2 separate regions of the Homo sapiens genome follow, and region 2 is linked to region 1. Evidence: promoter capture Hi-C in human tissues and cell types (Jung and others, 2019). All regions are on one chromosome and are shown on one strand. The core of a region is centred on a gene start or on the middle of the fragment in contact, and the rest is flanking DNA. Distances in the headings are between cores, read along the strand shown.

What was found. Contacts are between HindIII fragments. The study calls those that stand out against the background at their distance.
Region 2: a contact is called between a fragment that was not itself captured here and the fragment with the promoter of CNOT10 in region 1, in 1 of the 25 tissues and cell types used here (bladder).

The regions. Positions count from the first base shown.
Region 1 is chr3:32,682,970-32,687,241 of GRCh38, reverse strand. CNOT10 (CCR4-NOT transcription complex subunit 10) reads right to left here and starts at 2,054. Exons shown (of 19, transcript NM_015442.3): 1 at 1,760-2,054. The coding sequence starts at 1,781. RefSeq lists a silencer at 1,944-2,253. The HindIII fragment of the contact is 8,061 bases long and covers 1-4,272 here.
Region 2 is chr3:33,762,524-33,766,795 of GRCh38, reverse strand. No RefSeq gene overlaps it. Among named protein-coding and RNA genes, the nearest start is that of PDCD6IP-DT, 34 kb to the left of the region's middle. The HindIII fragment of the contact is 7,177 bases long and covers 1-4,272 here.

The DNA.
Region 1 (4,272 bases), core at 805-3,304:
CACCAGTGAGAAGACTACTCAATGCGACATAGATCATATTAAAAGATAAAGGCCAGAAACACAGCAGATGAGATGGAGATGAGCAGAGATTCAAAGGAGCTACACTAAACACTCATCTATTTTATTCAAATTTAACCTTATATCAAAGCAGGAAGTTTCCTTCAATATGGCCTATAAACTTAAACCAATGAAAAAAACAGTCCCCTAATCACTGTGGACCTTATTCTTCAACTACACACATTACACAGCTCTTACCAAACAGGAGTGCAGCTAGGATATGCCTGTCTCCTCCAACAGACTGAACAGCAGGTCTTCAAAGGCAGGGAGTGTGTCATATCCATTATTCAACACTCAATCTTTGCGAATGAATAAATGAACAAGTAGAAGGCTTTATGACTGAGGATTTGAAAACTGGATGGGCTTTAGGTCTAAAAGGGTGATTTCGGGCAAGCGCAATGGTATGAGCAAGTAGGAATGGTAAATGTGGGGAACACAGACACTATTCTAAAATAAGGAGGAAGATGTTGGTCCCCTGGTCCAGCCTTGGACAGGCCATGCCGTTTTCCTGTCTAATAGTCTCTCCCTCATCCACCTTTCCTCATTTCTTATGGCTCATTCCCTCACTTCTTACATATCTCTGCTCAAATATCATCTCACCAGAGGCCTTCCCTGAACAACCTATCCAAAATTTCACAGCACATTCCTTATACCCTCTCAAGGCCTTTGTTCTGTTGTTTTTCTTCTTAGATTATTGAAGAGATCCTCTAATGATTTTTATTCCTCTGTACCTAAAATAGAATTGGCTTAATTTCCAAGTGAAGTTCATTTGTCAGTTATTGTGACCAGAACCTACTAAAATCCACAGCACACTGAGTTTTTCTTTAATTTTAAATTAAATTCACTGTAAAAATTTTAAGTTCCATCACTTTTAAATCCTGTCACTTAAGTTCTTTCCAATAAAACCTGGATGCCACAAAGAATATGAATTTCTTGCGGGAAACATTCCGGACAAGGTCAGGAAATAATTTTATATTCCTTAATGTGGAAGATTCTAGGAATGGGAGCAATAATCCATAAAGAAAACCATTGAGATTAAGTAATTTCGAGGAACTAGAGCAATTAAGTACCAAATGCAAGATTTTAGGAGCACAGACTGTAGAGAGACAATAGGATTTTATGCCTTTTTAAATAAGTGGTTTACTTTGAGAGGCCAAGGCGGAAGGATCGCTTGGGCCCAGAAGTTCGAGATCAGCCTGGGCACCATAGCGAGACCCCCGCCCGTCTCTATCAAGAAAAAAAAAAGTGGTTTTTACAAAGTTAATTTCACAGGAGTCAATGACCAGAGGAAGCCACATGTGGTCAAAACAGCCCAGGTGAATCCCAGCCTCAGCCACGCGATATTATAGGCAGATGTGTGCTCCAGGGTGACTTTCTCTTGTCTGCTTTTCCCACGAAGAAGCGGAAAATTCTGCGAAGCGGCAAAATACATTTAAGCTTTTTGGGCCGGAGTTATTCTGAAGAGCAGGGCAAAGGCGGCCAGTGGCGACTTCAAATACTGCACTTGAGTAAAACAACTATTGGACCCGGGGCCCGAAGACTCATGTTAGCGACAGCCGAGACAGAGGATGGGGTAAAGAAATGCACGCCCAAATTCAAGTCGCCCTGGAGTCCCCACCCCGGGCCCCGCCGCCTCCGAGTTCAGGGTCCGCCCGGCCCCGCACGTCCCGCCGTCTCGTCGCTCGGGACATTGGCGCCCTACCTGCAGGCTTGTCTGCAGCCATCTTCCCGCTTCGACTCGGGTTCTTCCCTGCAGGTGGCGTGGCCCTGACTCCCGCCGCCGGGCTGGCCGCTGTCCTGGACCTCCGAGGACAACTCTGTGCCTACCCCGGCTCCGGGCCCCCAGGTTCCGGCTAGAGGAGTGGGCAGACGGCGGGCTGAGGAAGTGACGAGAGCTAGTTCCCGTCGTCTAGCAACAGCAACAGCTTCCCCACCAAGGGACCGCCACAGCCTCCCGCCATACACAGCTTCCGCCTCACGGCGTCCCGGTACCCACTACTTCCGGGGGCGGCAGCCTGCCGCGCCTGGAGCGCCGGCGTGGGAACTGCTACTGGCCCCGCCCCACGCCGACGTCCCCTCCGCGCCCCGCCTCCGGCCGGACGTACTCTGGCTGGAACCTCTGGATGTTCACAGGGCTGACGCGGTGGGACGTACGCGCGTCTGTCCTTTGCTTACTCTAATTAAAACACCGAGGTGTCAGAGCTTTTGTCCCTCAATGTTACATAATATTACAATAACCACATCTGACATTTATGTGCTAAGCACTGAGCCCTGCACTTGGTCTGTACTATCTCATTGATTTCTTGCAACCCCATGAGAGAGGCGCTGTTGAGGATTCCCGTTTAAAAAGAAACGCCTTTTATTTTAGAATAGTTGTAGTTGTGCAGAAAAGTTGCAAAGATGACACCTAGAGTTCCTGTCTCCTCACCTAGTTTCTCCTATTGTGAACATCTTAATTATTTTACTATGTTACGTTGATCACATCTAAGAAACCAGTTTGATTGGCGCACTATTACTCACTAAACTACACATTTTATTCACATTTACCAGCTTTCTTTCAATGTCCTTTTTTTGTTGTTGTTCCAGGATCCTGTCCAGGACACCATATTGCATTTATTCATTATGTCGTCTTAGGCTATTTTTGGCTGTGGCAGTTTCTCAGATTCTTCTTGTTTTTGATGACCTTGACAGTTTTGAAGAGTTACTCCTCAGATATTTGGTGGAATGTGCCTCAATTTGGGTTTGGCCAATATTTTTCTCATGGTTAGACTGGGGTTTTGGGTGTTTAGGAGGAAGACCACAAGGTGACTGGCTGTTCTCATCACATAGAATCAAGGGTACATGCTGTCAAAATGACATCACTGATCATGTTAACCTTGATTACCTCTCTAAGGTAGTGCTTGCCAGTTTTCTCTACTGTGCAATTACTCCTCCTACCCTTCCACACTACTTTGGAACCAAGTCAATAAATGCAACCCACACTCAAGGTGGGAAGGCGGGGTATTTAAGCTCTACCTCCTGCAGTGGGGAGTATGTACATAAATTATCTTCCCCAAGGGAAGTTTGCCTCTTCTCCCTCACTTAGCTATTTATATCAGTATGGACTCATGGATGTTTATCTTATAATGGTTACATTCCAATACTACATTATTTTGTTGCTAAAATTGTCCCAGCTTTGTTAATTGGGAGATTTTTCAGGTTTGTACCTGTTTTTTTCTTTTTTTTTAACTTTTGTTTTAAACTTTCTTTTAAAAAAGTATTTGTTTTTGGCCGGGCGTGGTGGCTCACACCTGCAATCCCAGCACTTTGGGAGGCCAAGGCAAGTGGATCACTTGAGGTCAGGAGTTTGTGACCAGCCTGGCCAACATGGTGAAACCCCGTCTCTACTAAAAATACAAAAATTAGCTGGGCGTGGTGGTGTGCACCTGTAATCCCAGCTACTTGGGAGGCTCAGGCAGGAGAATCCCTTGAATCCGGGAGGCGGAGATTGCAGTGAGCCAAGATTGCCCCACTGCACTCCAGCCTGGGCAACAGAGTGAGACTCTGTCTCAAAAAAAAAAAAAAGTATTTGTTTTTTCTTAAACTTTTTAATTCAGGCTAACATACACAAAGAAAAGTGCATGAATCATAAGTACAGTGTATTGACTTTTCATCAACTCAACACATACATATAACTAGCACCCAGAGAAAGGGCAGAGCTTTACCCATATCTGGGAGTTCCCCTCATGCCTCTTCCCATCTCTCCACAAAGATAATCATTATGCTGACATTTAACACTATGGATTAGCTTCACCTGCTTTTAAACTTAATGTATATACATTATACAATATATTTTTTAGGGTCTAGCTTCTTTTGCTCGATAGTATGAGATTCATTGACATTGTTGAATGAAGTTGTATTTGTTTCTCATTGTTATATATTATAATGTTACATTATGTGAATATTCCTTAATTTATGTATTCATTTTATTGTTGGGCATTTGGATATTTTATCTATTTTGAATAGGGCCAATATGATTACTCTAGTATGACTTTTGATGAATATGTGCCCACCATAAAAAGGCATACCTGGCTGGGCAAAGGCATACCTGGCCGGGCACGGTGGCTAATGCCTGTAATCCCAGCACTTTGGGAGGCCGAGGCAGGCAGATTACCTGAGATCAGGAGTTTGAGATCAGCCTGGCCAACATGGTGAAACCCCGTCTCTACTAAAAAA
Region 2 (4,272 bases), core at 494-2,993, 1.1 Mb before region 1:
CCCCAATGTTAGCTTGTAGTAGTTTCATACTTTGAGGTCTTAGATTTAAGCATTTAATCCATTTTTATGTCATTTTGCATATGGCAAGAGATAGGAGTTTAATTTCATCCCTCTGCATATGGATATCCAGTTTTCCCAACACCATTTATTGAAGAGACTGCCTTCCTCAATGTATTTTCTTGGCACCTTTGTCAAAAATGAGTTCACTGTACGTGTTTTGATTTGTTTCTGAGTTCTCTACTCTGTTCCATTGGTCTATGTGTCTGTTTTTATTCCAGTACCATGCTGTTTTGGTTACTATAGCTCTTTTTATTCCTCCAGTTTCATTCTTTTTGCTTAGGATAGCTTTGCTGTTCTGGGTCTTTTGTGGTTCCATATAAATTTTGGGATTTTTTTTTTCTCTTTCTGTGAAGAATGTCACTGGGTATTTTGTTTTTTGTTTTGTTTTTGATGTCACAAATTACATGCTTTTTATTGTGTATCCATTAACATATTTTACAAATTATTTTTTATCTTTTTGTCTTTTTATAAATGATACTTTAAGTTCTGGGATACATGTGCAGAACCTGCAGGTTTGTTACATAGGTATACACGTGCCATGGTAGTTTGCTGCACCCATCAACCCATCATCTACATTAGGTATTTATCCTAATGCTATCCTTCCCCTAGCTTCCCACCCCCCAACAGGCCCCAGTGTGTGATGTTCCCTTCCCTGTGTCCATGTGTTCTGATTGTTCAACTCCCACTTATGAGTGAGAACATGCGGTATTTGGTTTTCTGTTCTTGTGTTAATTTGCTGAGAATGATGGTTTCCAGCTTCATCCACATACCTGCAAAGGACATGAATGCATCCTTTTTTATGGCTGCATAGTATTACATGGTGTATATGTGCCACATTTTCTTTATCTAGTCTATCATTGATGGGCATTTGGGTTGGTTCCAAGTCTTTGCTATTGTGAACAGTGCTGCAGTAAACATATGTGGAATGTCACTTGTATTTTGATAGAGATTGCATTGAATTTATAGATTGCTTTGAGTAGTATGTATATTTTAACAATATTTATTCTTCCAATCTATGAACATTGGAATATTTTTCCATTTTTTGGTGTCCTCTTCAATTTCTTTCAGGCGTGAGCCAAAATGCCCAGCCTGATTATTTTATATGGACTATTATATTCATCATGCCTTGTAAATATTTCTTGGCCACATAAAAAGAAAATGTGTCTCTGTTTGGAGGATATGAAGTTATATAAATTAGAGTTACATAATTATTTATTAGTTATGTCTTAAGATGTTTACATCTGTTTATTAATTAAGCCTTTAGGAAGTTATTAATTAGATGTTACCTTAAGATGCTTAAATCCATGGTGGAATGACACAGAAAAAAACATACTTTAAAAGATGTTTTTCAACAGATTGAAGTCTACTTGAGGTGGGAGGGGGGAGGGGGAAGAGGAGCAGAAATGGTAACTATTGGGTACTGAGCTTAATACCTGGGTGATATAATAATATCTGCAACAAACCCCCATGACATGTGTTTATCTATGTAACAAACCTTCACATATACTCCCAAACCTAAAATAAAAATTTGTTTAAAGATATTTTTAATACTCCCTTGTTGTAGGCTGTTTCTAGTATTGTAGGGACAAGAAAAAATATTGCTGTTTGAAAAATTATAGCCATAATTTTTGTCTTTCGCTTTATAGGTTATTAGGGAAAACAGTACAGTTCTAACAACCTATAAAGCAAAAGACAAAAATAAAGCAAAGAGTGTTAGTTGATACAAAATAATCAACATTTTACAGTATGGATGATTTAGGAGTAATGATGACTGATGATATACAATTTTTATTTTATTTTATTTTATTTTATTTTTTTGAGACAGGGTCTCTCTCTGTCGCCCAGGCTGGAGTGCAGTGGCGTGATCTAGGCTCACTGCAAGCTCTGCCTCCCGGGTTCACACCATCCTCCTGCTTCAGCCTCCCGAGTAGCTGGGACTACAGGTGCCCACCACCACGCACCAGCTAATTTTTTCCATTTTTTAGTAGAGATGAGGTTTCACCGTGTTAGCCAGGATGGTCTCGATCTCCTGACCTTGTGATCTGCCCTCCTCAGCCTCCCAAAGTGCTGGGATTACAGGCGTGAGCCATCACTCCCGGCCTTTATTTTATTTTTTGAAACAGGGTCTCGCTCTGTCACCCAGGCTGGAGAGCAGTGGCACAATCATGGCTCACTGCAGCCTCAAACTCCTGGGCTCAAGCCATCCTCCCCCTCAGCTTCCCAATTAGAAGGGACTACACGTGCACATCAGCATGCCCAGCTAATTTTTTTATTTTTTTGTAGAGACAGGGTCTCACTATGTTGCCCAAGCTGGTCCCAAACTCCTGGCCTCAAGCAATCCTCCCACCTCAGCCTCCCAAAGTGCTGGGGTTACAGGTGTAAGCCACTGCACTTGGCCTTGGTAAACAGTTTTAATGTTTTATTTTTTTCTATAACAATACTCTAATAATATGCTAAAACTTTTGGTAAGCCTGATATATGAGGTGCTGTGGGGGAAACTGAAGCAAGACATCTTTGAACACTTGATGAAGCAGAGGGCTGCAACTACCTGGGGCAGTTATGATATGGGAAATGGTGACTAGCAGGAAAGGGCCAGTTTTGGTGCTGAGAATTGAGACCATAAGGTGGCAAACAGGAAAGGTTGGATTCAAGTGTGGGTTATTCAGAAGTGGACTTGAGATACTGTCTTCTGCAATATATTAGATAGTGCAAAACGTTGAAACAAGAAGTGACAGCCTGCTGATCCATGGGTTGGTACAATCTGGTTTATATCTAGGTTATGCTATGTTGTAAATAATAATAGCTCAATGCTGTATCGAGCACTTACTATGTGCCAGCCATTAGGCTGAACCATATATATATATATATGGCAACCAGAAATGCCAACAGACATAAATAAAAGGGGAAAAATGTCCAAGAAAAGCCTGTTCTTTCTCACCAAGGGAAAGAACAAGAGAAACCTAGCAAGAGAGAAAACTTAGACAATAATTGTCCTACTGTAGTGAAATGCCACAGGAAAAATTGAGGTCCCCATCCCCACCCTTGTAGACTTCCACTCTCACCCAGCTGGCATGAGGTATTCCTCCTCTCCTCCTCCCCCAACACTGTGATGGTGTCAGAGAAGACCAGGTGGGGCACCTAGGATTGTCACCCTAATCATGCAGTAACAAGCCCCTCCATTCTCCACATTTTCGGGGGAGACCACATGAAAAGCTTGAACCTTCACTTCCACTTGGCAGTAACAAGGCGCATCAACCTTCCCCTGACTGGTGCAGTATCAGAGGAAACCTGATAAAACCAAAGACTTAAATAAGATCCAGAGCCTCACAACATAATAACCAAAGTATCCAGGATTGCATTTTAAAAATCATTCATTATTCCAAGAACCAAGAAGATCTTAACTAGAATGAGAAAAGACAATTCACAGATGGCAACACTGAGACGGCACAGACACTTGAACTGTCTGACAAGGATTTTAGAGCAGCCATCATACAATGACTCGATGAGAAATTTTGAACATGCTTGAAACAAATGAAAAGTAGAAAGCTTTGGTGAAGAAACAGAATATGTAAAGAAGAGCCAAATAAAACCTTTAACTGAAAAAAATACAATAAAATATTAAAACTCACAGGATAAGCTCAATAATAGACTAAGGAAGACAAAAGAATAAATCAATTAATCTGAAGTCAGATCAATAAAATGTAACCAACTTCAACAACATGAAGAAAATACACTGAAGAAAAAAATCAATAGAACCTCAGAGACCTGTGGAACCTTAACAAAAACCAATAAATTGTATTATCAGAGAGGAATAAGAGTGTGAGATTGAAAAAGTGTTCAAAAAACTCATGCCTAAAATTTTCCTAAATTTGGCATTAAGACATAAACTTATAAATTTCACAGGCTAATTGAGGCTTAAACAGAAAAAAACAAAGAAATATAACCAAGACACATTATAATCAAACTTCGGAAAACCAAAGACAATGAAAAATTTGAAAGCAATAAGACAGAAATGATTTACCTGTAGGAAAAAAAAACAATTCAAACAACAGATTTCTCATACAAAACCATGCAGGCCAAAAGGAAGTGGGACAAGATTTTTGAAGTGTTTAGAGAACTGTGGGCCAGATGCCGTGGCTCACGCCTGTAATCCCAGGACTCTGGGAGGCCGAGGCAGGTGGATCACTTGAGGTCAGGAGTTCAAGACCAGCC